Regions from separate parts of the Homo sapiens genome. Here all the other regions are linked to region 1. The links are contacts of gene promoters, found by promoter capture Hi-C in blood cells and fetal thymus (Javierre and others, 2016). All regions are on one chromosome and are shown on one strand. The core of a region is centred on a gene start or on the middle of the fragment in contact, and the rest is flanking DNA. Distances in the headings are between cores, read along the strand shown. Region 1 holds the start of HPS4 (HPS4 biogenesis of lysosomal organelles complex 3 subunit 2). Region 2 overlaps TTC28-AS1 (TTC28 antisense RNA 1). Region 3 overlaps PITPNB (phosphatidylinositol transfer protein beta). Region 4 overlaps KIAA1671. Region 5 overlaps PITPNB (phosphatidylinositol transfer protein beta). Region 6 has its middle 50 kb from the start of MIR6817.

Region 1 (3,940 bases), core at 909-3,408:
TGCTTACAGAATGAGGTGCCCTGCAATGCAGGGCCCACCCTTACCAAGTGATAGGAGGGGGATATATGTTGAATATGTCCAGAGCCAGAGCACATACTGCTGGGGCTCAGAGACTGCAGGAGAGAGTATGCTGGAGGAGGTCCTTGATTCCCAGAGAGAGATCTGGGTCTATTCTCAGTCTACAACAGAGCCTAGCATAGAATTGCAGCTCAATAAATGGTTGTTAAGTGCTCAGAATTAGCCTTTCTGAGCTTTAGTTTCCTCATCTCTAAAATGGGGATAAAAATCATTCCCAACACGGAGGAGTTTAGAGGCATAAAATGGGTTAACATTCTTAGCCCAGTGTCTGGCACATAGCAGGTACTCAACAAATGGTATTTGTTATTATAAATAGTTTTAAGGGGAAAGTAAAGAGACAAAACCAAGTGTCTGGGCTTTCTTTATTCAAGTCAACTGGTTTTACAGACCCAGAGCAAAAGAAAGTCAACAGTGAATTAAAATGAACTGGATTTAAACTGACAAGCCACAGCCAGAGACAGTGATTATGGGGTTCAGAAAGGAGTACAGAGAATTGAAAGTCGGCCCAGAGGCTGCTGCACGTTTCTCACAGAGGGTAGAGAGTTCTGATGTACACAGGAATGCTTTATGAACTGGTAAATGCGTACACAGATATGCGTGTAAAATGCTGGCTCAATCTCTACTCAGAGCGATGGTGATTGCACCACACTTGGGTGTTGGGAGAAGCAAGGAGCTCCTGGGGAATACTGAAGCAGTTGAGGAGATCGTGACAGTGTCAAGGGATATGAAAAATGCCTTGAGTTTTCCAAACCCCTAGGCACATTCACTCTCACTGGCATCCTCTGAGAGCTTAAAAATAATCGCAGGTGCTTTTTATTCAGGCTGAGCCAAATGGTCAGCAACTTTCTCTTCAGAGGTAAACTCTGGGACATTACTGCCTCTTGACCCTAATTCTAGGGGAGAGGAGCACACAAAATTAATCTAATTTCTCCCCTTGTGACGGCCCTTCGGATGCTGATCTTAAGTGCTAACTAAAGCTGTTATTTATTGAGCCTAAACAAAACTGCGAATAAAGATAATAATACTAAATAACAATAATAAGTAACATTTATTGAGTGTTTCCTCTGTATTAGGCACTCTCTATGTACTTTCTAAGGTACAGAGCAAGGTATGTGAGAATCTGGGCTGGGATAAGCAACAAGCATAATGGAAAGCTGGAAGCACTGGTTTTTGTCACAAAGACCTGGGTTTGAAATCTGGTTCCACACATTTTCTTTGTCTCTTTGAGAATCAGTGAGCTACCAGGGTCCTAGTATGCCTGCAATGTTTAACATAAAGTGTGTAGAATGATTAAGCTAATGTCAGGCACATAGCAGCTGCCTGATGATAGCAGTCACGTGTTCATGTTGCTTCCCTCGTGTCACCACCACCAATAATATCAACATCGGCATAATATTAATAGCAAACACTGGCACAGTGCTTACCACGTGCCAGAAAATGGTTTCCGTTTACTAATTCATTGAATCCTCAAAACAAACCTACGTATGTACTATTTTCATCCCCATCTCACAGATGAGAAAACTGAGGCACAGAGATTATAAATTGTCCAAGGTCACGCAGCTGTAACCGTAATAAAAGGAAAGACGACCTTTAACTGAGCGCTTACTATAATCCACATCTTTAATGAGCTCGTTACCTACGTTAACTCTTCACAATAACTCCTTAAAGGGTGTGCATTATATCTCCACTCTACAGATGGGGAGACTGTGGCTCAGAATTGCCCATGGGCGCAAAGATTCCATCAGGGCCGAGCCTGCACTCACTCAGCCTCCCAGATGCGACGAAGCACGACTCCGCTGTCAGACTCGAACTCCGCCTCGGGGCCCCGGGGCGCCGCCTCTCTCCCCCGGGGCGCCGCCTCTCTCCCCCGGGGCGCCGCCTCCCTCCGCCGCGGCCGTCGAGCCGCGGAGCGCCTCTTCCGCGGAGCCGCCGCCTGCCAGGATTCCAGCGCCGCAGCTGCGGCCGCAGCCATTGGTCTCTGACGTCAGCGGCGTGCGGCGCACTCGGCACGTCATCGCCGCGCGCCGGCTTGCCAGGAGCTGGAGGGGGAGGTAGGCGGGGCGGCGCGTGACCTAAGGCCTCTCTGCCGCGCGCGCAGGTACGGGGCAGAAGTCGCAGGTACCCAGCTGCTGCCCACATTTCTGGTCCAGAGTCCCGAACCCCGAGCACTGGGATGCCTGGCTACTCCGGTGGGTGGGCGGCGCTCGGAGCGCGGGGATACCGAGGGGCGGGCCCCCAGCTTAGAGCGTGACCCGACCCCGCCTAATCCTTAGGCGTTCGCCCACCATTTCCCAGTCCCGTAGAGCTGGGGCCAGACACCGCACAGCCCTAGTGCTGTTACCAGTCGCTGCCTGCGCCCCGGGGGCTGCGCCCAGCAGCTTCCTGGCCCTTTTCCAGCCATTAGCGTCCGTTTTCCAGCCCTGCTGCCCCACTGAGGCCCCTTCCCACAGCAGTATCACCAGCCCCAGCCCCGCGTTGTTACTATTACTTCCCAGGCTACCAGATCCTTTTCTGCTCATGTTCCGACGTCTCTTCCTACTCCAGGGCCATTATTGGTCTCTTCTGGACCTTTCAGAGATAAGAGAGGACCTCGGTAGTGTAGGGCCCAGTCCTCTGGGAACAAGGGATGGGGAGTTTTAGGCTGCTGTCCTTGGTTCCAGTAACAGAGATACCCCCTCCACAGGCACCCAAATATGCTCCATAGAATACAATGAGTGTGGTCCTGTGGAGGCCCAATCCAAAATATCTAGAGCTGAGAAGAGATAGAGATTTTACAGGCCGTCAAATATTCAATGGGGGTCGTCTCTAGAGACTTTTAACAAACTGTATTGTGTACCCACAGATTGCAGAATGGTGAGCAAACATTTGAGACCATGTTGCTAAAGCATTAAGCTTGGAGAAAGTGACAGTAAGAATTAGACAATAGTTTTGAAGTGACCAAGAGGTTGTCACATGGAAGAATTAGACCTTGTTTTGTGTTTTCCTGCAGAGCGTTATCCAGACTAGCGAGTGGGAGGCAGATGTAAAATCTGGAACGCAGATTTTAGTTTGTTGGAAGGAGAAATGTAACATAGTGAACCACGCATCTCTGGAGGGTGTAAAGCAGAGACAGCCAAGGTAATTTTTGGAAAAGAGTGCAGGAGAGTAGAGTAAACGATGCCAGGGTTCCTTCCGACTCTGAAATTCCGTGATACACTGAGCTGTCTTTCTCTTGTGGAAGTTTGAAAGCCATTTGATAAAGTTCTCTTCATTTTTTAGAAATTTGCCCTGCTCTGGAATTCTGCATGTTCAGGTTACTTTTGGACTGTCAAGATGACAGTTCCTTAATTTGGGTTCCATTATTACCACAGCAACTGGTTTATTTGTATAGCTGTCCACACCTAGAGCATTTTCACCCTGTCATTTGATTTTATCTTCCGTGAAGCTTGTGGTGTGTTTCCCTTAACTGTTCGAGAAACTAAAGCCCTTACTCTGAAGTCTCTGCAAGCCTCCCTCTTTGATTTTGAAGCATGATTGTCACCCTCACAGAAAGCTCTTTTGAAATATACCATTCGTTTAATCCTGCTGGGTCACATGCTCTCTCACGAGTTGCTGAAATATCTATTCCTTGTGTTTATTTCAGAGCCAAGGCACTGATGTTTGAACTGGAAACTTCAAAACGTTTAATAAGAGTCTTCAGGATGGGTTTGAACTAGACAAGCTAGAAATTTCTTTAGAACACCAGCTCTAGCATGCATCTCCCACTTTTGGCTTTCCTGGAGAGGAGCTTGAAGAGGTGGTTCTGCAGACAGCCACAGTGATACTTAGGAAACCAGAGGAATGGATTTGACTTTTCTGCTAGGATTCTCTGTTATAGTTTCTC
Region 2 (3,940 bases), core at 1,022-3,521, 1.4 Mb before region 1:
AAAAGTTTTAAAATTAGCCAGGTGGGGTGGTACATGCCTGTAGTCCCAGCTACTCGGGAGGCTGAAGTGGGAGGATCCCTTGAGTCCAGGAATTTGAGGCTGGAGTGAGCTACCATCACGCCACTGCACTCTAGCCTAGGTGAAAAAGGGAGATCCTGTCTCTTAAAAAAAATAAATGCCTACTTTTATATGTTCTGCTTGAAACTATACTGGAGGTCATGGTCAATTTAGGAAGGCAGTATAGCAAAGTGGTTAAAAACTCAGGCTCTGGTACCAGACTGGCTGGGTTCACATTCCAGCTAGTTGACTAAATTTGGGTTAATTAGCTGTCTCTCACTTTGCTTAACTGTAAAATAGATAGTAGTACCTACATCATGTGTTTGCTTACAAGATTAAATGTATTAAATCATGCAAAGCACTTAGAATACCCAGCATAAAGTAAATATTGAACAAATGTTAGCAAGAGAATAGAAAATACTATTTTCTCAGTTTTATTTTAAAAATTTTTGAAAGATAGGGTCTCGCTATATTGCCCAGGCTGGTCTCAAACTCCTGGCCTCAAGTGATCCTCCCGCCTTGGCCTCCCAAAATGCTGGGACTACAGGCATGAGAAATTGTACCTGGTTGATAACTGACTTTTTTTCTTTTCTTTTTTTTTGAGACAGAGTCTTACTTCTTTGCCCAGGCTGGAGTGCAATGACATGATCTTGGCTCACTGCAACCTCCACCTCCCGGGTTCAAGCAATTCTCCTGCCACAGCCTCCCCAGTAGCTGGGATTACAGCCATGTGCCACCATGCCTGACTAATTTTTGTATTTTTAGTAGAGACGGGGCTTCACCCTGTTGGCCAGGTTGGTCTCGAACTCCTGACCTCAAGTGATCCACCTGCCTCGGCCTCCCAAAGTGCTGGGCTTACAGGCGTGAGCCACTGTGCTCGGCCAATAACTGACTGTTTTAAAGCAAAATAATGATGTTTTGTGAGATTGTAAAAACAAGAAGAGAGATGAAAGTATACTCTTGTTTCTTACATTTTATGTGAAACAGTTTAATTCCATTTAACCCTTTTCCCATTTGCCCCAAGAATACTTGCTGGCAGCACTTGTAGCTACAGAGTTTACCGTGAGATACCTTTGCCACAAAATATCTCACTTTTATAATTATTGTTGCATTGCTCTAGTAATATTGACTCCCGAAACAAAAGACATCATTCTATTTATAGCATTCTGTTTTTAGTAGTGGTATTTCCATTTATAAAATATAGTAATTCTCAATCACTGAAAATGTCAAATCCTAGAATACATAGCATTCCTATGAGTGATGTTAACATTGTTCTTGAACAGTTGTTGGCCAAAAATTTGATAAATCCAATTTTTCTGAAATAGATGATTCTAATGATTCACACAATTCTGATGTTAGTTCTATTTAGAAATAACTCCAAGAACAGTTTTTATATTTTATTTTCACATTGGAAATCAGATTTGCTTCATCCTCAAAAAGCATGTTTATGTAAAATTAAATGAGTGCTGGCAGTGAGCTGCACCTTTTTTTTTTTTTCTAAGAAAAGGGTTAATGGTAGACTGTGGTAAGTTACAGATACATCTTATAAGCTCTACAGTAAACATAAAAAAATTGGTAGATTTAACCCAACCATTTTATAACTATATTAAATATAAATGGCCTAACATTCTACTTAAAAGGTCCAGTATCAGACTGGATTAAAAAGCAAGGTCCAACTATATGTTGTGTACAAATTACTATCACTACAATGACAAAAAGGTTAAAAGGAATAACAAGATACCTACTACGCAAACACAAATCATAAGAAAGCTGAAACTCTACATTAATATCAGGCAAAATAGGCTTCAGAACAAGGAATATTATCAAGGATAAAGGGAAGTATGCCACAACTATAATGAGGATAATTCATCAAGAAAACATAAAAGTCCTACAGGTGTAGGGATCTACTAACAAAACCTCAAAATACACAAAGCAAGAACAAACTAGATTATAAGTTTCAATAAATTTGAAATGATTAAAATCATACAGGGTATATTCTTGGACTGTAAGCAAATTAAACTGAAACTTTAAAATGTGGAGAATATTGAAATATTTGGTAATTAATATACTTCCAAATAGTCCAAAGTTAAAAAAAAATTAGAAAATACTTTGAACTGAATGACAATGAAAACATAAAAATATAAATGCAGCTAAACCAGAACTTAGAGATGAATTTATATGTTTAAATGCTTATATTTGAGAAGAAAGTCTAAAAGCAATGATATGGGCTTCTATCTTAAAGCTAAAAATAGAAAAAATTAAACCAAAACTAACTAGGCAGAGGTAAGTAATAAAAGGTAAAAATCAATCAAACTGAAAATAAGTAGAGAAAAATCAAAGAACGGGGTAAAAACATCTATCCAATTGGTAAACTTTCTCTACATGGGCTGGTGGGAAAAAAAAGATCAATAAACTGATTTCACCACTTACAGCAACAGTATTAGAGTTCTTAACCAGTGCCATAAAGGAAAAGAATAAAAATCATAAAGATTGGAAAAAAACATGAAACTGTCTTTACTCAGAGACTGTTATATAGAAAATCTTATAAAACACACAAAACCACTCTTGTAACAAGTAAGTCCAGCAAGGGGAATAAACAAGAATCAAGTCTATCTTTACATATTATCAATACTTGAGGAATTTTTAAAAATTACAATTTTTTTTAAAAAACCACAAAATACTTAAGGATAAAGCAAAATATTTGCAAAGCCTATACCCTGTAAGCTACAAAATGCTGCCAAGAGCTGAGAAACATTGAAGATCTAAATAAATGAAGAGATATACCATTTATAAAGATTCAATATTAAGATGTCAATTCTTCCCAATTGTTCTATAGATTGAATGAAAAGTCCCATAAAAATTCCACCAGGGTTCTTTTTTAAACAAATTAATGAAATGAAATCCTAGAAGAGCCAAAACAATTTTGAAAATGTAGAAACTGGAGGAAATAAACCACCCGATTTCAAGACTTACTATATAGCTATAGTAATCAAAGCAGTGTGGTATTACATAAACATATTGACCAATGGAACAGAACACTCTCCTGAAACAGACCCGCATACACACAGTCAACTGATTTTCAACAAATGAGTAAAGGAAATGTCTTTTTAATAATGGGGGCTACAATTGGATATACATATGCAAAAAAAAAAATCAAACTTGATTCTTACCTCACATATACACCAAAACTTATTTGAAATGGCTCACAGACCTAAATGTAAGAGCCAAAACTTTAAAACTTGCAGAAGAAAACATAGTAAAATAAGAATCTTTGTGCCTCTGGCTTAGGCAAAGATTTCTCAGGAAGTACACAGAAAGCATGAACCATAAAACAAAATGAGAAACTAGACTTCATCAGAACTTAAAATTTCTGCTGTTTGAAATATACCACCAAGATGAAAAGGCAAGCAGCTGACTGGGAGGAAATACTCATAACACAAACATCTGAGAAAGGACTTATATGTAGGATATTCAAATAACTCTTCCAACTCAAAAACAGAAAAAGAACAATTTGAAAATGGGCAAGAGTTGAATAGTTACTTGACAAAACATGTACAAATGACCAATAAGTACATGAAAAAGTGCTCAACATCATTAGTTTTCAGAGAACTGCAAATTTAACTACAATGAGATACCACATTTCCACTAGAGTGGCTAAAATGTGTTGATGAGGATGTGGAGTAACTGGACTCTCATGCATTGCTGCTGGGAATGCAAAATGGTACCACCACTTTGTAAATTGTTGGCCACTTCTCCCAAACATACACTTACCTTATAATCCAACAGAAATGAAAACATATATCCACAGGAAGACTTCTATACATCTAGTCATGGCAACTTTATCATGACCAAAAACTGTATAGCACTGAAAAATCCATCACTA
Region 3 (3,940 bases), core at 626-3,125, 1.4 Mb before region 1:
GGCCAGGCTGGTCTCGAACTCCCAACCTCAGGTGATCCTCCCACCTTGACCTCTGGCAAAGTGCTTGGATTACAGGTGTGAGCCACCGCACCTGGCCCTTTCTTTTCTTTTCTTGCCTTCTCAGCTGAGCTTTTCCTGACTAGTGAAGAGAAGGCATCACAGTGTATTTAGGGGATATTTCAGTTGATTGTAAAATGAAAGATTAATTGGTTTATTTATGGTAAATTAATCTGGTCTTCAAATTCTTCCCTATATTTTTCTGTGTTTTGATGTTCATCTGCAGTGGGAAGGAGAAGGGTGGGAAAAGTTGTCTTGCTTGTGTGGTTTACAGATAGACATAATAATTTCCAGGGAAAAGTGCATGGTATTATTTATCTCAGGAATAGGATTAAAAAAGGAATGTGCCTAGATCAGGCGTTCAGTGTACCTTATGGTCATATTTTACCCTGAAGTTAAATAGTCTTAAAGTACTATTCAGAGTGGGAGAAGCGGTATGTATTCCTGAAGAGTCTTCATGGTCCTGGGCATTGTGCTATGGGTAACTCTTAACTCTTCACTCTTAAGCAGCTGAAATCTAGCCATGTTTACCTTGAGGTAAGTGAACGCTGTTCCGAGTATTGGTTTATCATGAGGGAGCACCATTTTGTGAATAGTTTGGGAGGACAACTGAAGGATTGTCTTTTTTGCATGTTTGTTTTTGAAGGCCTATCTCCCATTTTGTTAATTCAGTTAATAATTGTTCCTTTTCTGAGGCTCTCTAAGCTTCCAAAACAGGAATCTGCTACATTTTACTAAAGGGCCTTACTATTGTTCATTCAGTTAATAATTGTTCTTTTCGGAGGCTAAGCTTCCAAATGAGGAATCTGCTGCATTTTACTAAAGTGCCTTGCTAAGTGGTAACTGTGGTGGCAAAATGATGTATATGCTCTCAATTATATATACCTGGCACACTTGAACTACCATGTTAGGAATATATTAAGGTTGCCATTAATAAAAATTTCTAACCTTTGAAGTAGAATTGAAATTTAATTTTATTTACTCCATGTGCACATTTTCCTCGTTTAGTCAGTTACTTAGATTCATTGAGGAGAGATGTATTTGATAATGTTCTCACGTTAAACATAAAAAAAAAGTAAATTTGAAATCTAGCTTATAGATTTGGACTTTATTAACTCAGTCAAAACATAAAATGAATTGCTGGAATTCACATGGTGGGAAAAGTATCTTAGAAATAAGATAGTAGGCATTTGGGAGCGAGATAAAGAAATATTAAAATTTTCATGTAGATTTGGCTCATGTTGGCCTTTAATGATAAATGCCAATTTCCTTCTATTTGAGTCAGCAAATTTTAGAACATTTTATGAATATTAAGGTTCTTCACATATCAGGCACTATAGGAATAAATGGATAGTTAAAATATGTGTCTGAGTTAATACAGAATTGTTTCTCCTGCCTTTTTGTTTTTTCTTTCTTTTTTTTTTTTTATTTTTTATTTTAAAGACAGAGTCTTGCTATGTCACCCATGCTGGAGTGAAATGGCATGATCTCAGCTCACTGCACCCTCCACCTCCCAGGTTCAAGCAATTCAGCCTCAGTGTCCCGAGTAGCTGGGATTGCAGGCACCCACCACCATGCCCGGCTAATTTTTTGTATTTTTAGTAGAGATGGGTTTTGCCATGTTGGCCAGGCTGGTCTCGAACTCCTGACCTCAGGTGATCCACCCACCTCTGCCTCCCAAAGTGCTGGGATTAGAGGCGTGAGCCACCACGCCTGGCCTCTCCTGCTTTTTCTAAGTTGACCAGCTGAACCATTGATAGATCTGTTTGTCATACTCTCAGATGAATAGGTAGTCTTGTAGCTTGGCTTAAAAAATTATCCTCATGTGTTCCATTGTACCCTGATTAGACCTCACCCACACTTAAAGGGATTTTGGTTCTAGTTCTTTAGCAATGGGATAAATTTTTTGGACAGCTAGATACTCTTTGACTTTTAAAGTGATGTTATTTTCAGTTATCCTGGCTTGGTGTTTCTGAAGTTTGAATGAATTGTTCCACCATTTGAAAAGAAGTGATCAGGCCGGGCGCGGTGGCTCACGCCTGTAATACCAGCACTTTGGGAGGCCAAGGCGGGCGGATCACGAGGTCAGGAGATGAAGACCACCCTGGCTAACACGGTGAAACCCTGTCTCTACTAAAAATACAAAAAAATTAGCCGGGCCTAGTGGCGGGCGCCTGTACCCCCAGCTATTCGGGAGCCTGAGGCAGGAGAATGGCGTGAACCCAAAGTGGAGCTTGCAGTGAGCCGAGATCCTGCCACTGCACTTCAGCCTGGGCAACAGAGTGAGACTCCGTCTCAAAAAAGAAAAAAGAAATAAGTGAACAAAGAATTAGCTCCTTTCATTTTTAAGGATGTGAAGACATTAAGGAAGATTTAAATGAAGAAAGGCATATGAAAATACCCAGCTCCGTATCAACTTATAATTAAAAAGCAGTAACTACCATTTTTTGAGCTCATTGTACTGTGCAATGTGCTAAACACATTCCAGTATTTGATTTAATTCTCTTAATAACCCTGCAGAGCAGGTAATAGGAATTCCATTCAACACATGAGGAATTTCAGAGAAGCCAAGTAGCAGGCCTAAGGTCACACAGCTTCCAAATGGTGATGTTGGGATTTGAATTCGATCTGTGTGAAAAGTCTGTGCAAGCAAAACTACTCTTTACAGTAGGCTCCAGTCACTATATCAGTCACTTCATTTGCATTTATTTGAAGACTGTTAAGACTGATTTTCCCATTTGTTTGTTAACAAATAACATTTTCTATTTGTAATGGGCCTGTGGATGACTTTTGCCCCTTTATATGTTGGGATTGTTTCTGATTATCATATGCTTGCACAAGCTTCTCATATATTAATCATGTATTGAACCTTTCTCTTCCTCTGAATATACTTAAGGCAGCAAGTGACATTCATCTCCCATACCTACAAAATTTTATACTTGGATATGCTTTAATTTCTCATTTTCTGCATGGGTCCTTTACATTGTCATTTTTCTTCAGGTCTGTTCTATAAAATGTATTCAGACTTTTATTCAGAGATATCTCCTTATTCTGGGGCTTTTTGCATTAAGAAACAGTATAATGTCATCTAACTCTTAAGAACTACATTGTATTAATGTGCAGATTGAATAGCTGTTAACTCTTAGGTTTTACATTGGGGTAGTAGATCAGAAGTTCTTAAGAAATAATTGCTTCTATTTAAAAAAAAAAAAACCACACACACACACACAAAACCTTTTATACAGTTAATTTTTTTTTTCCTTGTGAGACAAGGTCTTGCTCTTTTGCCCAGGCTAGAGTGCAGTGGTGTGATCTCAGCTTGCTGCAACCTCTATCTCCCAGGTTCAAGTGATCCTCCCACCTGAGCCTCCTGAATAGTTGGGGCTACAGGCATGTGCCACCATGCCTGGCTAGTTTTATATTTTTTGTAGAGACAGGGTTTCACCATGTTGTCCAGGCTAGTCTCAAACTCCTGGGCTCAAGTGATCCTCCTGCCTCAGCCTCTCAAAATGCTAGGATTACAGGCATGAGCCACCATACCCAGCTAAATATTCTTAATCATTTTTATTTAAAATGTAAAAAATTATGTGTTCATTTCTACTGGATTACTTTAGGATTGAAATAAACTAGTTCATCAGACTTAGAACCTGGTCACCTTTGATTGCCATACTCTTTCAAGCAGTTGGATAGATACCAAGAAAGAATTGATGGTGCTGTTAAATATATCCAGTATCTCTCTTCTCCCAGCAAAGTGCCTGCATTCGTGAGGATGATTGCTCCCGAGGGCTCCTTGGTGTTTCATGAGAAAGCCTGGAATGCGTACCCCTACTGTAGAACAAGTAAGCTTGGCCCCCAGCAGCCATTGCACCCCTCCACCCTGAGA
Region 4 (3,940 bases), core at 613-3,112, 1.4 Mb after region 1:
GAAGACCCTAGTGAATGGGCAACATTACCAGGGCCCAGGGGCAGTGAGGAGGGGCCCATGCTGAAGAAATGATGGATGAACGCATGTTCAAGCTATGCGAAGCTACAGGAGTGGCAGGGGAGCGAGCACCTCCACCTGGCTCTCTGCAATTATTCCTGGTTAGCTGGTCACCAAATCTGACGGTGGCCTCCTGGGAAGCAGGAGGAACTGACATTCTGGGAGCAGCTTCTAGGTTTCAGAAATGAGCTAGAGAATTCAAAGGAATTGCCCCAAGAAGCAAATCAGGAAGGCAGCGGGGCCTCGCTTTGCAGATGAGGAAGCTGAAGTTTGGGAAGCTGAAATGGACTTCCCAAGGCCACGGGGCTTCCTCAGAATCCAGGTCCACATTCCCAAGCTTCCTTGAGAGGTCAAGCAAGAGTTTCCAGTTTAGAAGTGCAGACACCTGGGCTAATCTAAGATCCCGGTCTTGTTAACACGTGTGCCAGGCTGTCTTCAGTGACTCAGAGAGACAGAGAAATTGTGGGTAATTTGCAAAACCAGCGGTGGGCCTATGTGGCTCCTCACTCCCCCAGGACCTGGTCACCCACAGAAAGCAGCGGACAAATGAAAATCTCTCTCATTATCACATCTAGGAAAGACTTTCTAAACTGCCTCATCCTACCTCTTCATGGTCCAGATGGGGAAACCAAGGCCCAGAGAGGAAAAGACTTGCCCAAGGTCACTAGAGAGGTGGGACACAGCCAGGTGAGGAGCTGTGACTCTGTCACTCCACAAAGCTGCCCCTAGGAGGCTGAGGGCATTACTGCCCAGCCTCTACTGGCCAGGATGAGCTTAGGCCAGTACCTGGAATGTACCATGGGCATGCCATGGGCTCTTGCTCTTTCTGACATCCACCCCAGCCCTTTGCACATGCTGTTCCCTCTGCCTGGCACACACTTCCCTGGACCCCTACCCTAGCATCAACTGCCAGCTCCTAGGCATCCTCCAGCACTCAGCTTCCTTGGGGAGGCTCTCCTGGCCCCTGCACCCCAACGAGACCATATCCCTTGAGGCACTGTGCACCACCCCCATCCTAACACATACATGGTCCTTGTTTCAGTTCCTTGAGCAAAGTCCAAATTCTCACCAGACTAAGTTCCATGCGGTCAGGGGACCATGCCGTCTTGCTCCTATATTCCAAGTATCTGGCGCTAGCTCCAAACTACTGCTGGTAAGTGTGTGCTGAATGAACATGAGATCGTAGCCATTTGTCAATGAGTTCAACACCTATGCCAAGCTCTAAGTTCTGGGGACCGTGGACTGTATCTTAGTCATCTCTGCATCTCCAGCATGGAGCCCAGAGCCCAACACGCAGCCAGGCACATCAAGGTTATCCAGACCTTGCAAACCACACAATTCAAAAATACGATTATTGGAGACTTCTTTTCTTCTTTGTGCCTGTCTGAATTTTCCATATCTTTTTACCATGCACATGCATTATTTTTGTAATTAAAACATCAATCAATCAATCAATCAATGTTGCCTTACATTTATTATATAAGAATGTTCATAGGCCAATGATTGAACAATATGGACTGGGGGGATCTCCTGTTTCCCCACTGCTCTGGGGGGCTCAGGAGGGAGGTGAGACACTCTGGGACTGGCGGCTAAAAGGCAATGTTTCCTAAAGTTGTATTTTTAGGAGCGCTGGAAAATTCTCTGGGCAAGAAGGCATCTGAAGTATTTGCAAACACTCAGCAATGGGAAAGATAATATTTCCTAAGACTTTCCCTTTTGGGTGTGCTGAAACCAGTGGCAAATATTCTGGAAAACTCTGAGACCAGCCCATGACAATTCTTCGGTAAGTCCCTCTATTCCCAGAGCCCTGATGGATGTCACACAACCCAGAATCACCTACACCCACTCCTTATTTCACAGAGGAGGAAACAGAAACCCAGAGAGGAGAAGTAACTTGCCCAGGCACAGAAAACAGACCAGTTGCGAAGTCAAAGTGAGACCTGAAAGCATTTTATACCTCACAAAGCACTTCTGCACAGCTTCCCTGACTTTGGCATTTCATCAGAAAATGTTCTGGTTTTTTTCCTCTGTTATCCAGAGGAGACAGCACAGTGTGAGTGTTAGTGGGGAAGGGGTCCCAACTTCTTCTATCACTGTGTAGGTTCAGGAAAAGGAAAGCAAAATCTATTATTTTCATCCCATAGAAGACAGACATTCTTACACACACAGAGGCAAGAGGGATGTAATTTCAGAATAAAGAATAGTCCTTTAAATCAAATAAATGTTGCTTTCTGAAAAACTCACTGAAGTGGTTCTCGTTCTTCCTGTTTTCTTGAGGACTGGAGGAAAGCCCACATCGGATCCAGGATCTTCATTCCTGTTCAGGAGTCTCAGCTCTTCCTACAAACCTGTGCTACCTCCCAAACCAAGCCCGTTTCCTTTTTCCCCAACATTCTCTCTTCCTTGTAACCTCCACCATTTCTTAAAGAAAACAGAGACATTGCTAACCAGACACAGCCAAAAAGCAAAGTTGACAGGAAGCAGGAGGAGAGGGAAAGGACGTGACCCCGTCCTGGAGCCTGCACTGCCCCCCGCCACTCACCCAGAGGTAGCGCAAGAGCTTCAGCAGGCTGGGGCAGTAGTAATACTCCATTTCCAGCACCCAGAGGTTATGTGGTGAGCACAGTACGGTTTCCAGCTTTCCTCTAGCGGGAGCGGCTCTTCTCACTCCTGTCACGCTGGAGTCAAGTTCAAGGCGGCATAAATCATTCAGAAGCCGGCTCACGGCCAGGGGACCAGCCAGTCGGCTCCACTAATGGCCACGGCTGCCTGGGGAACTGAGAAGCCACCACTCGGTCCTATGAGCCCCGCCCGGGGCATCTCTGGCTTCTCGTCCAGTGGGGCGGGTCCAGGGGTGGATCCTTCTGAACCCAGCTGCCTGGACCCTCACCCTCCCGGGAGCCGTAGGCACGGAGGGTTTTAGGGTTTTCAGTTGTACGGCAAGAAGGCAAGAAGAGAGAAGGTGATGCCCGGGAACTGAATGTGTGCACGCGTGTGTGTGTGTGTTTATGCATGAAGGAGTGTGTGTGTACATGCTTTTACGTGGAGTCAAGTATGTGTGCATGTGTGCATACGAGTGTGTTTTGTGCATGTGTGGACTGACTGTGTGCTGTGCGTGTGAGCCCAAATGTATGTGGTTCCTCCTCCCCAAACCACATGAGGAGAAGGAGGCCCTGCCACTCGTTACAGGGAAGGAAATCAACTCAGGATCCCATTGGTTTACCGGGCTCCTTTGATGTCAGTCATGTTCCTTTTAAACTCAGCTAAGCTTCTGATCCCCCCAGAAGGAGGGTGTGGCCATCCCCATTTTACAGAGAGGAAAACCGAGGCCCAGAGAAGTCAAGGGACTTGGCCAAGGTCACGCGGTGAGTTGGTAGCTAAAGCAAGGCTGGAACCCAGGCCTCCCAGCCATGATTCCTGGGCCCGTCCACTCCTGTGGACACCCAGCCCAGCATGGGGAGTGGGGTGCTGGCAAAGGGAGGGATCAGCTCCCTGAGGCACCAGCTGCCAGCTGCACCAGGTGGGGAGTGAGGAGAATGTCAATTTTCAGAGATTAAAATGCAATAAAAGCACACCTCGGGCAAATCCAAGGCAAACTTTCCCAGATGTTTCCTTCAAAAGAGCATGATTTTAGCAAGTCACCTCATCCTCCTGAGCCTCAGTTACCCCTTCTGTAAAATGCGACAAATTATCCCTGTGTTCAGGGCTTTGAGGATTCAACAAGGTAGAATCCTGCCAAACCATCTAGTTTAGTTTTCATGGTCATATCATGAGGGCAGTATCATCACTTCTACTGTCCAGATGAGGAAACCAAAACTCACAGGGTCAAAAGAGGTTCCTGAGGTGAGCAGCAGCTAAACAGTGAGACAGGGATTCAAATACA
Region 5 (3,940 bases), core at 816-3,315, 1.4 Mb before region 1:
CGTCATTGCACTCTCTAAATAATCTTTATAATATTAAAACTTTTTTCTTTTCAAAATGAAAAAGAATGATGGAACATGACCAGAAAAAGTTAAATATTGGTTGAAGCCATGTGAAGTTGTTAGTATTTGTAAGCTTTTGAGCTACAGAAATGACGTTTTCTTATGGGTCAACCTAATATATCCTCCAAATTAATTTTTGGTAGATGATACCCTAAATGGTCAGCAGTCCTTTTGGTTCTCTCTCACAGCTTTCAAGAAGCTCCTGTGTTTTAGATGTTACATTTGTTCCAACTGCTGCTGCTTATTTCCTAAGAAGGGCTTTCTGCTTCTTGGAGCTGTGCAGTGGCTACCCGGCTCTTTAGACCTGAAAAGAGCTTTTGTTTATTAGAAGTCTGTGGCTGAGATCCAGCCAGTCCTAGCCGGGCCTATGGTTGCCAAATGCTGCTTTGGTTGTTTTCTTCAGCATGAGCAGAGACACACTTGATCTCAGTAGAGTACCATGTCTTTTTGCTGTTAAAATGAACCTAGACGTTCATTTCTGTCTTAAAAATGTGTTACTTATCACTAGGGTGTGTGATCCAAAAACTCTTTATTATGTGTGCATAATAAAAACATGAGAATTGTGACCCAGCTCCTAACTCAAGATGAATGCATGTGATAGTAGCTTTCCTGAACTTAGGGAGAAAGCACCTCAAATACACGTTTTGTGGTAGCAGTGATTTTGCTTATGCTTAAGAAATTTCTGTTTGCCAAACGCCTGTCTCATCTTGCCTTTACTGTGAAACAGACTGTTGTCAAGGTCTTTTGTAGTAAGTTAGAGATTTTTCCCCCATCTTCAAAGAAGATATAAATAAATGTAGGCATGTTTTCTATTAAAAAGAAATGTGAAAATGTTTCCTACATTATTCCACTGCCTTACATGGTCACACACTTTCAGATCATTTCCAGTAGTAGATTTAGAGAATGTCCACTATATTCGAAGGCATGGTTGGATAGTGCCCTCTTGTGGGAAAACAACATATTGCTTATGTCGTGCTTGCTTAAACATTAGCAAGGATTTTAAAATTTTATTAACTGGGTGCAGTGGCTCACGCCTGTAATCCCAGCAGTTTGGGAGGCTGAGGCAGGCAGATCACCTAAGTTGGGAGTTCGAGACCAGCCTGACCAACATGGAGAAACCCCCTCTCTACTAAAAATACAAAATTAGCTGGGCATGGTGGCATGTGCCTGTAATCCCAGCTACTCGGGAAGCTGAGGCAGAAGAATCGCTTGAACCTGGGAGGCGGAGGTTGTAGTGAGCCGAGATCGTGCCATTGCACTGTAGCCTGGGCAACAAGAGCGAAACTCCATCTCAAAAAAAAAAAAATCGGTGTGTACAAGCATGTTTTGTACAAAATGCTTTTTCACTAGAAACCATTATTAATTTAAGGTTTATTCCTAATTTCTTCCATGTTTTAAAAGTAAAAAGGCGGGGAGGGTAATGGAGGTGATGGGGGTGTGAATAGGATTTGCTCTAGTTCCTTGGGTGGGGGATAAAATTCTCTGAGAGTCAGAAAATGTTTTTGAGCAGCTCATGGCAGATATTTGTAAAGAAATAAGCATAAACAGCTCCAAGTCAAGTTTTTACAGTGCATTTCTTATAAAAGCCCCTTTTCAGCCATGTAAACTCTTTTTTAAGGAAGGCTCCCTAGGCTGAGAGGGAGCAAGCGTCCCTTCAGGTACTTGAGTCTAATCAAATGGTAGAATGTAAATCACATTTTTTCAATAAAGGATCATGGTTGGCTTTGGTGTCAGACAGGGCAGCATCTGAGTCCTGGCTCTTCTGCTCAGTGATGGTGGACTCTGGCAAAGAATTTCACTTCCCTGCCCCTAGTGGTGGTGATAGTCCAGTACCTTTATTTCAAGTTTTTGAGCATTAACTGGGAGAATGTGGGGGCCTGACACATAAGTGTGTGCTTCAAAATGGTAGCAGGAATGATGTTGCTTATTGGATTTTGTTCTTACTTTAAAAAAATGTTTAATTTTTTTCATATTTTAACTTTTTCATGTTGAATATTTGTTAACTTAATGCTAATGGACTAAATGGAATCTTGGGACTTAGAAGCTAAAGGCCAAATCATGGACTAACATTCAGAGTGAGAGAGGGCTCACTCTGAATTTTTACTAGGGTGTTTTCCCCCATTTCAGTTTAAGGAAATTGATATAATATGTTCAGTGATTTACTGTCATTTAAGGAAACATGCCTTTTTGTAAATAAAACTTTTCTAAATGTATCACTTACATTTCAGGTATATGCAGTATAATTTTAAAATATGTAATGTTTAACAAACACCTTTATGGAATTAACTTGTTAAAACTCATTTCATTGGTAGTAGAGTTTGAAATATCTTCATTTTTAAGTGTTATAATATATAAACATATACTAGTAATAAATACAATATTACAATAATAAATATATTCTATATTTGTGCATGAACTGCCCAAAGCAGGAACCCACCTCCCCCTGAGGAGAGTGCTGGGGTGTAGCCCATGGGCAGCTGCTTAAGGCAGCTCACTAGCCCCAGTAGCTCTGGGCTATACAGGAATCTCAAGAGCTTGCTCCATTGGGCCTCACTTTCTCATCTTATCCTGGAGCACAGCTATTTGGTTTCCTTGCTGTGTTGTAGGATATGGAGTGTATCACATAGCCATCTGTTTGTAACCTTTTCTTGGGGCTGAAATTCTGATTTCTTTCTCTTTCTCTATTAATTTGTATCCTTCCAAAGGCTTTAGGAGTCTGCCTCCATAAACATGACAGTGTTGGGGATAAGGATAAGATCAGAAAGAATGGAATGAACGATTAGTTTAGTTGTGCTCTAGCCTAGCAGTGCTCCCACCACCCACATGCCAGGCTCACCCCCACCATCTCAGGACTCTATGGAGGGTCTCTTTGAGATCAGAAAGATTACCAAAAAAAAAAAGTGTTATGTTCAGGGGTGTAGATTTGACTGCATTTCTCAGTTCTCAATACAGTTGTTTAAAATTCAGCTTTTAGGATTCATTGGTGGAAAGCCAGTAAGGTTTAATGAGAGGACTGAATTATAGAATATTTTTTAATGCAGTTTTGTCCCTCTGAGGTACATTCAGTAACAGAAACTAGGCCAACAAGTTATTGACAATTAGTGGTCCTTTGGGAATCTGCTTTAATGAATAGATAAGAATGATTTGTAATTAGCATAATAATTATATGCAAATGAATGCTTCTGAATTGCTCTAAAACACTTCTGAACTGTTTAAACAGCCCTCCTGAGATCTTGTTACTCTATTAATTTGTGTAGCAAATCTTTTTTTCATAGATCATGCAAAGATAAACTTCAGCCCAGCCCCTGTCTGAATGATTATGTATTCCAAGGTAGTAGGACCTGAATTAATGAGATTTACTTATACTATATTAATGGTACTCTGTGGGAACCTGAAAGGTTGAGGAGTCACTGGGGAGATGTAATTAAAAATAGAAAAGAAAGCTGCTTATTTGAAAATAACTGTTGAAATCAGTTTCTTAAACAAGTTAGTAAATGTTATTTCTCTTTACACCTCTGTTATTTGCTTTTGCAAAATTTAATGTAAACTTTTTTTTAATGGGCTTACTTACTCTTTGGAGTCTCGCTTGAATTTTGTCAGCTTGAGTTAGTTATTCGTTTGGCATTAGGGTCAACAGTGATAGGATCCAGGAACTCATTTAGGTGCCACAATACTGGAAAATTCAGGGCAGTGCTAATAAATGATGTTTGTTATTTATCTTCATATTTAATTCAGCTTTATTCCCCATCCTGGGCTTTATTTTTAGGATGTGATTAGAGGAAATAAGCCTTGCTAAGTTGAACTGCAATACCCATGCATTTAAAACTTAATGATTATCTTTGAGCTATTTTAATAGACACCTAATTAATCATTGTATGCT
Region 6 (3,940 bases), core at 394-2,893, 1.1 Mb after region 1:
GAAGACCAGCCAGACCAACATGGTGAAACCCTGTCTCTACTAAAATTACAAAAATGAGCCAGGCGCGGTGGCGCATGCCTGTAATCCCAGCTACTTGGGAGGCTGAGTCAGGAGAATCGCTTGGACCTGGGAGGCAGAGGTTGCAGTGAGCCAAGATTGTGGCATTGCACTCCAGCCTCTCCAGCCTGGGCAACAGAGTGAGATTCCATCTCAAACAAAACAAAACAACGAAAACTAACTACTGGAGAGGCTGAGGTGGGAGGATTGCATGAGCTCAGGAGTTCGAGGTTGCAGTGAGCTATGATCACACCACTACACTCCAGCCTGGGTGACAGAGCGAGACCCTGTCTCAAAAAAAAAAAAAAAAAAAAAAAACTTGTAGCAGAGAACAGCAAGTGCAAAGGCCCTGAGGCAGGAGTGTGCCTAGTGTGTTTGAGAACCCACAGGGATGCCACTGTGGCTGTAGCAGGGTGAGATGTGGGAAGGGAGAGTGGCTAAGGAGGCTGAGAGGTCAGGGAATAAGTGTGGCTGGAGCCGGCCCTGAAGGTGCCCGAGACCCTTGTTTCTCTCCTGAGATGGCGGCCCTCACAAACCCTGGAGCTTCCCTGGCTGCCATGAGGTCAGGCGGAAGGGGGTCGAGGTAGAGGTGGACACAGGGTGCAAGAAGGGAAAGGATTTTTGCTGCTTAAATCCTAGCCTGTCTTCCCATTGCTGGTGGGGTACATTATCAATTCCTCTTCCCTGCCTGAGGTCTGACATGTGCTGGCCCCAGCTGGCCTCTTCCTTCCCCCAGCTCCACCTTCCACCCCTCAGCTCCAGCTCGTGGCCTGATGTGGTTCCTCCTCCCAGTCCATTGACCACGCTGGCCCCTGCCGCAGGGCCTCCTCTATTGATGTGTGCTCTTCCTGAACTGCCCTTCTGCCGGACAGCTGCTCCTTGGTGGCAGCTCAAGTGTCCTTCCTTCCCTAAGCCAGAGTTTCCCAACACTGCAGCCCAACACCCTTCATTTTTCATGACATTCTTCATGTTCTGTCAATGGGCCTTTTGTTGTTTTAATTTTGTCTTCTTGTTTTTGTCGGTCTCCCTTCCTAGAATTTAAACCCCATGAGGGCAGAGGCGTTCAGCCTCACGCCAGCCTGGCAAATTTGTCACAAATCTGGAGGAACGCACACGTTCGCGGGCACCCAGTTCTGTGAGGTATTGCAAGCCCTCTCTGAACCTGCAAGGTGGCCATTGCTGTTCCCACTTTACAAGGGAGGAAGGAGTGCCCGGAGAGGTTCTATTTAGACCCGCCAAGGGCACAGTCGTTCTAGAAAGTAGCAGATCGGGAGTTTGAACTTGGGCTTGCTGGTTCCAGAGCCCCTTCTGTGCCCCTTCCAGGCTGTGCCTGGGTGAGATTCTTCCCCTTCGAGCACCTCTTCTTCCTCGAGGGTTCAGTGGCTGAGCTGACACCGGTGGGCAAGAGGCCTTGGCCTGCTTGTTGAAGGACTCAAAGGTGGCGTCTGGAAGCCTGGCGGGACTTTTCCCCTGTCAGCCTAGAGGCACTTTTAGAGGAGCGTGTCTGTTTCGCAGTCTTCGTGTCTCATAATTCATAATTAAGGTAGAGAGTACACATTTAGTTTAAAGTAAAAATTCAAACCCACCTCCACTCCCAGCTGGCCAGCTTCATGCAGTTCTCTCCCTGTCCCCTCCTCTGCCCTCCACAGGTGAGAACAAGTGTCAGGGCCGCACCATGGGACCCCAGGCTTCCTGCCCTGAAACTGCCTCGCTGTGTGCCCTTGGGCAGCCCCGCCCCGTGCCTCAGTTTCCCCACTCATAGAGGCTCCACAGGTAACACACCGGGCTCCTGGCCCAGATCTGCCCCCGGGCCCCGCGGGGCGGAAACCCCGCGCCCCAGCCCCGCGCCGAGCCTCCCGGCGGCGCCCCCAGGGCAGGGCGAGGAGCGCGGGGAGGGGCCGCGGGGACCCGGGCCGCTGGGGCCGTGGGGCCCGCCCGGCCGCCGGCCGGCTCCCTGGGGCGCGGGCGGCTGCGTCAGCGGGGGGCGGAGACGCGGCGCTGCTTCCGCTCACGCGCGCCCTGCTCCCTCCTCCCAGTCGTCCTGGTCCGCGGCGCCCAACGGGGAAGACGAAGATGCAGGGACACGCGCGAGGAGCCGCCGCAGCCGCCGCCGCCGCGCTGTGGAGCCCGAGTGAGCGCGGCGCCAGCCCGTCCGGCCGCTGGACAACATGGAGGCTGCACTGCCCGGGCCGCCGTGGCCGCTGCTGCTGGCGCTGTGCGGCTGCCCGGCCCCCGCCGCAGGTAGGTGGGCGCGGGCCGACCCGGGACCGCGGGCTGCTAGTACAATGGCCCGGGCGGCCCCGCGACCAAGTGCACGGGCGCCACCGCCGCCTTGGAAGCGAGTTGGGGGCGAGTTGGGGCGCGCACCGGGGATCCCCCCGCCGTCCCTGCCCGGGCCATCCCCGGGGACGCCGCGTCCCGGGCCGGTGAGGAGGGCGCGCGGGCGGCGCCGGCCGGTCCTCACCTGCCCGCGCCCGTAGGAAGCCAGGAGCCGAGCCCGCGCTGGGCCCGTGTGGCCCGGGCCGGGCACCAAGTTGGGACTTGGGGCCCGGAGGCGGGCCTGGCCCGGGAAGCCGGTTCGCGACTCTGTTTCCAGCGGCCGCGCGGCCGGCCCGCGTGCTCCGAGGACCGGCTGAGGTTGCAGCGAGAAAGTTCTGAGCCCGGGTGCGGGGCTGCCTGGCCGGTGGCGCTGCCCCTGTGAGCCGTGGCTGTGGGTTTCCAAGCGGACTGACACATGCCAGGTGCCGGGGCGACCCGAATGCCCCTTGTGGCCGCCGGGGTCCCAGATGGTGTCCCTCCCCGGGTCGGCTGCCCGGAGGGGGGCGGGGGGGGTGGTGACATGGTCCCAGAGCGCGGGACAGTAGGGGAGGCAGGTTCGTGCCTCAGTTGTACTCTCCAGTGGGGAGAGAGTAAGGCCGGGCAACTTTGTCTCCAACTTTTGGTGTTTCCCAAGGGGTGGAGTTGAGGTCAGGAGGACTCAGGACACTTAAGCAGTTTGTGAAACGCTACACATGTTCTTTTAATTTGGAGATGGCCATGTGGTTTTTGAAGCAAGCCTCTTGCTGCCTAAATCATTCTCTTCGGATGTGCGTGTTTTGCTTTTCTGGAGTATGGCCAGCCAAGTGGCACGGCCCGCAAGTGCCTGTGCACGCCTGGGCTCCTGTTCTGTTTGTGGCAGTTTAGCTGGGAGGATCTTGGGCCCCTTTGTCTGTGCCTCCTTAAGGCAAACAGCTGTCTCCTTGAATATTTCCAGTGTGGATGGTGCAGGGGGGTGGCCGTGTAGTCTGTTCCCCTGGGCTGCAGCCTCTCTTCTGGAGGTGTAGGGGGCAGCGGGGAACAGGAGGAGCTTGGCCTTTGTTTCAAGTCCTCCTACCTCTGACCCAAACCTAGAGATTCTGTGGACAGTTTCACCCCAAATTTGCCTCTCTCAGGAGCGTGTTTACATTTTGGGGCCTTGTCGGGAGCTAGCAAAACAAGGTGAAGACAAAACAGCGACAGTATCTGGGGAGTACAGGCCAGCACCGTTCCTTTTTCCGGAAATGCGTGGGTCAAGGAGGCAAAAGGGGTTTTGAGGAAGCTGTTTGTTTTAAAGGGGGAGTTTCTAGGCTGACCACGTTTGCCTTTCACCTCATTGCAGTTTGGGTTTTGTGCACGTTTTAGGTGATGTTGCTGGAATCAAATGTCTGTCGTTCATGTGGTTGGAGCCCCTAAGGAGAAAGAACTACAGCTGTGGAGTTCAGTTGTATGTGAGGCAAAAATAGAGTTGATTATTTTAACATTAGGCAGCAAGGCCTGGGAGCCCCAGCAAATGTGGTGATCCAGTCCTAAAATAAAAGGAAAAGGAGGAACGGTTTTGATGTTATGTCCCTGATTTTCTGTGTGA

Evidence for each region. The method cuts DNA at HindIII sites, captures the fragments that hold promoters and counts their contacts. A CHiCAGO score of 5 or more calls a contact.
Region 2: a fragment that was not itself captured here is called in contact with the fragment with the promoter of HPS4 in region 1 in 3 of 17 cell types (naive CD8 T cells, non-activated CD4 T cells and total CD4 T cells); the score reaches 11.4 in naive CD8 T cells.
Region 3: a contact is called between a fragment that was not itself captured here and the fragment with the promoter of HPS4 in region 1, in 2 of 17 cell types (total CD8 T cells and naive CD8 T cells). The highest score is 6.1, in total CD8 T cells.
Region 4: a fragment that was not itself captured here is called in contact with the fragment with the promoter of HPS4 in region 1 in 1 of 17 cell types (fetal thymus); the score reaches 6.2 in fetal thymus.
Region 5: a fragment that was not itself captured here is called in contact with the fragment with the promoter of HPS4 in region 1 in 1 of 17 cell types (naive CD8 T cells); the score reaches 6.8 in naive CD8 T cells.
Region 6: a fragment that was not itself captured here is called in contact with the fragment with the promoter of HPS4 in region 1 in 2 of 17 cell types (total B cells and erythroblasts); the score reaches 5.6 in total B cells.

What each region holds. Positions count from the first base shown.
Region 1 is chr22:26,482,001-26,485,940 of GRCh38, reverse strand. It overlaps HPS4 (HPS4 biogenesis of lysosomal organelles complex 3 subunit 2), which reads left to right and starts at 2,158. Exons shown (of 14, transcript NM_022081.6): 1 at 2,158-2,267; 2 at 3,701-3,940. SRRD (SRR1 domain containing) reads right to left here and starts at 2,064. Exons shown (of 7, transcript NM_001013694.3): 1 at 1,842-2,064. The coding sequence starts at 2,050. RefSeq lists a silencer at 1,881-1,970 and an enhancer at 1,991-2,110. The HindIII fragment of the contact is 3,757 bases long and covers 1-2,972 here.
Region 2 is chr22:27,925,570-27,929,509 of GRCh38, reverse strand. All of the region lies in intron 1 of TTC28-AS1 (TTC28 antisense RNA 1), which reads right to left. Among named protein-coding and RNA genes, the nearest start is that of MIR3199-1, 6.9 kb to the right of the region's middle. The HindIII fragment of the contact is 6,881 bases long and covers 1-3,940 here.
Region 3 is chr22:27,897,757-27,901,696 of GRCh38, reverse strand. It overlaps PITPNB (phosphatidylinositol transfer protein beta), which reads left to right. Exons shown (of 12, transcript NM_012399.5): 4 at 3,805-3,896. Among named protein-coding and RNA genes, the nearest start is that of PITPNB, 20 kb to the left of the region's middle. The HindIII fragment of the contact is 2,051 bases long and covers 850-2,900 here.
Region 4 is chr22:25,069,076-25,073,015 of GRCh38, reverse strand. All of the region lies in intron 6 of KIAA1671, which reads right to left. Among named protein-coding and RNA genes, the nearest start is that of KIAA1671-AS1, 42 kb to the left of the region's middle. RefSeq lists an enhancer at 2,843-3,393. The HindIII fragment of the contact is 2,931 bases long and covers 397-3,327 here.
Region 5 is chr22:27,878,053-27,881,992 of GRCh38, reverse strand. The region is part of intron 7 of PITPNB (phosphatidylinositol transfer protein beta); the gene reads left to right. Among named protein-coding and RNA genes, the nearest start is that of PITPNB, 39 kb to the left of the region's middle. The HindIII fragment of the contact is 3,859 bases long and covers 136-3,940 here.
Region 6 is chr22:25,403,560-25,407,499 of GRCh38, reverse strand. It overlaps the pseudogene LRP5L. Among named protein-coding and RNA genes, the nearest start is that of MIR6817, 50 kb to the left of the region's middle. RefSeq lists silencers at 1,933-2,362, 2,403-2,572, 3,124-3,418. The HindIII fragment of the contact is 6,552 bases long and covers 1-3,940 here.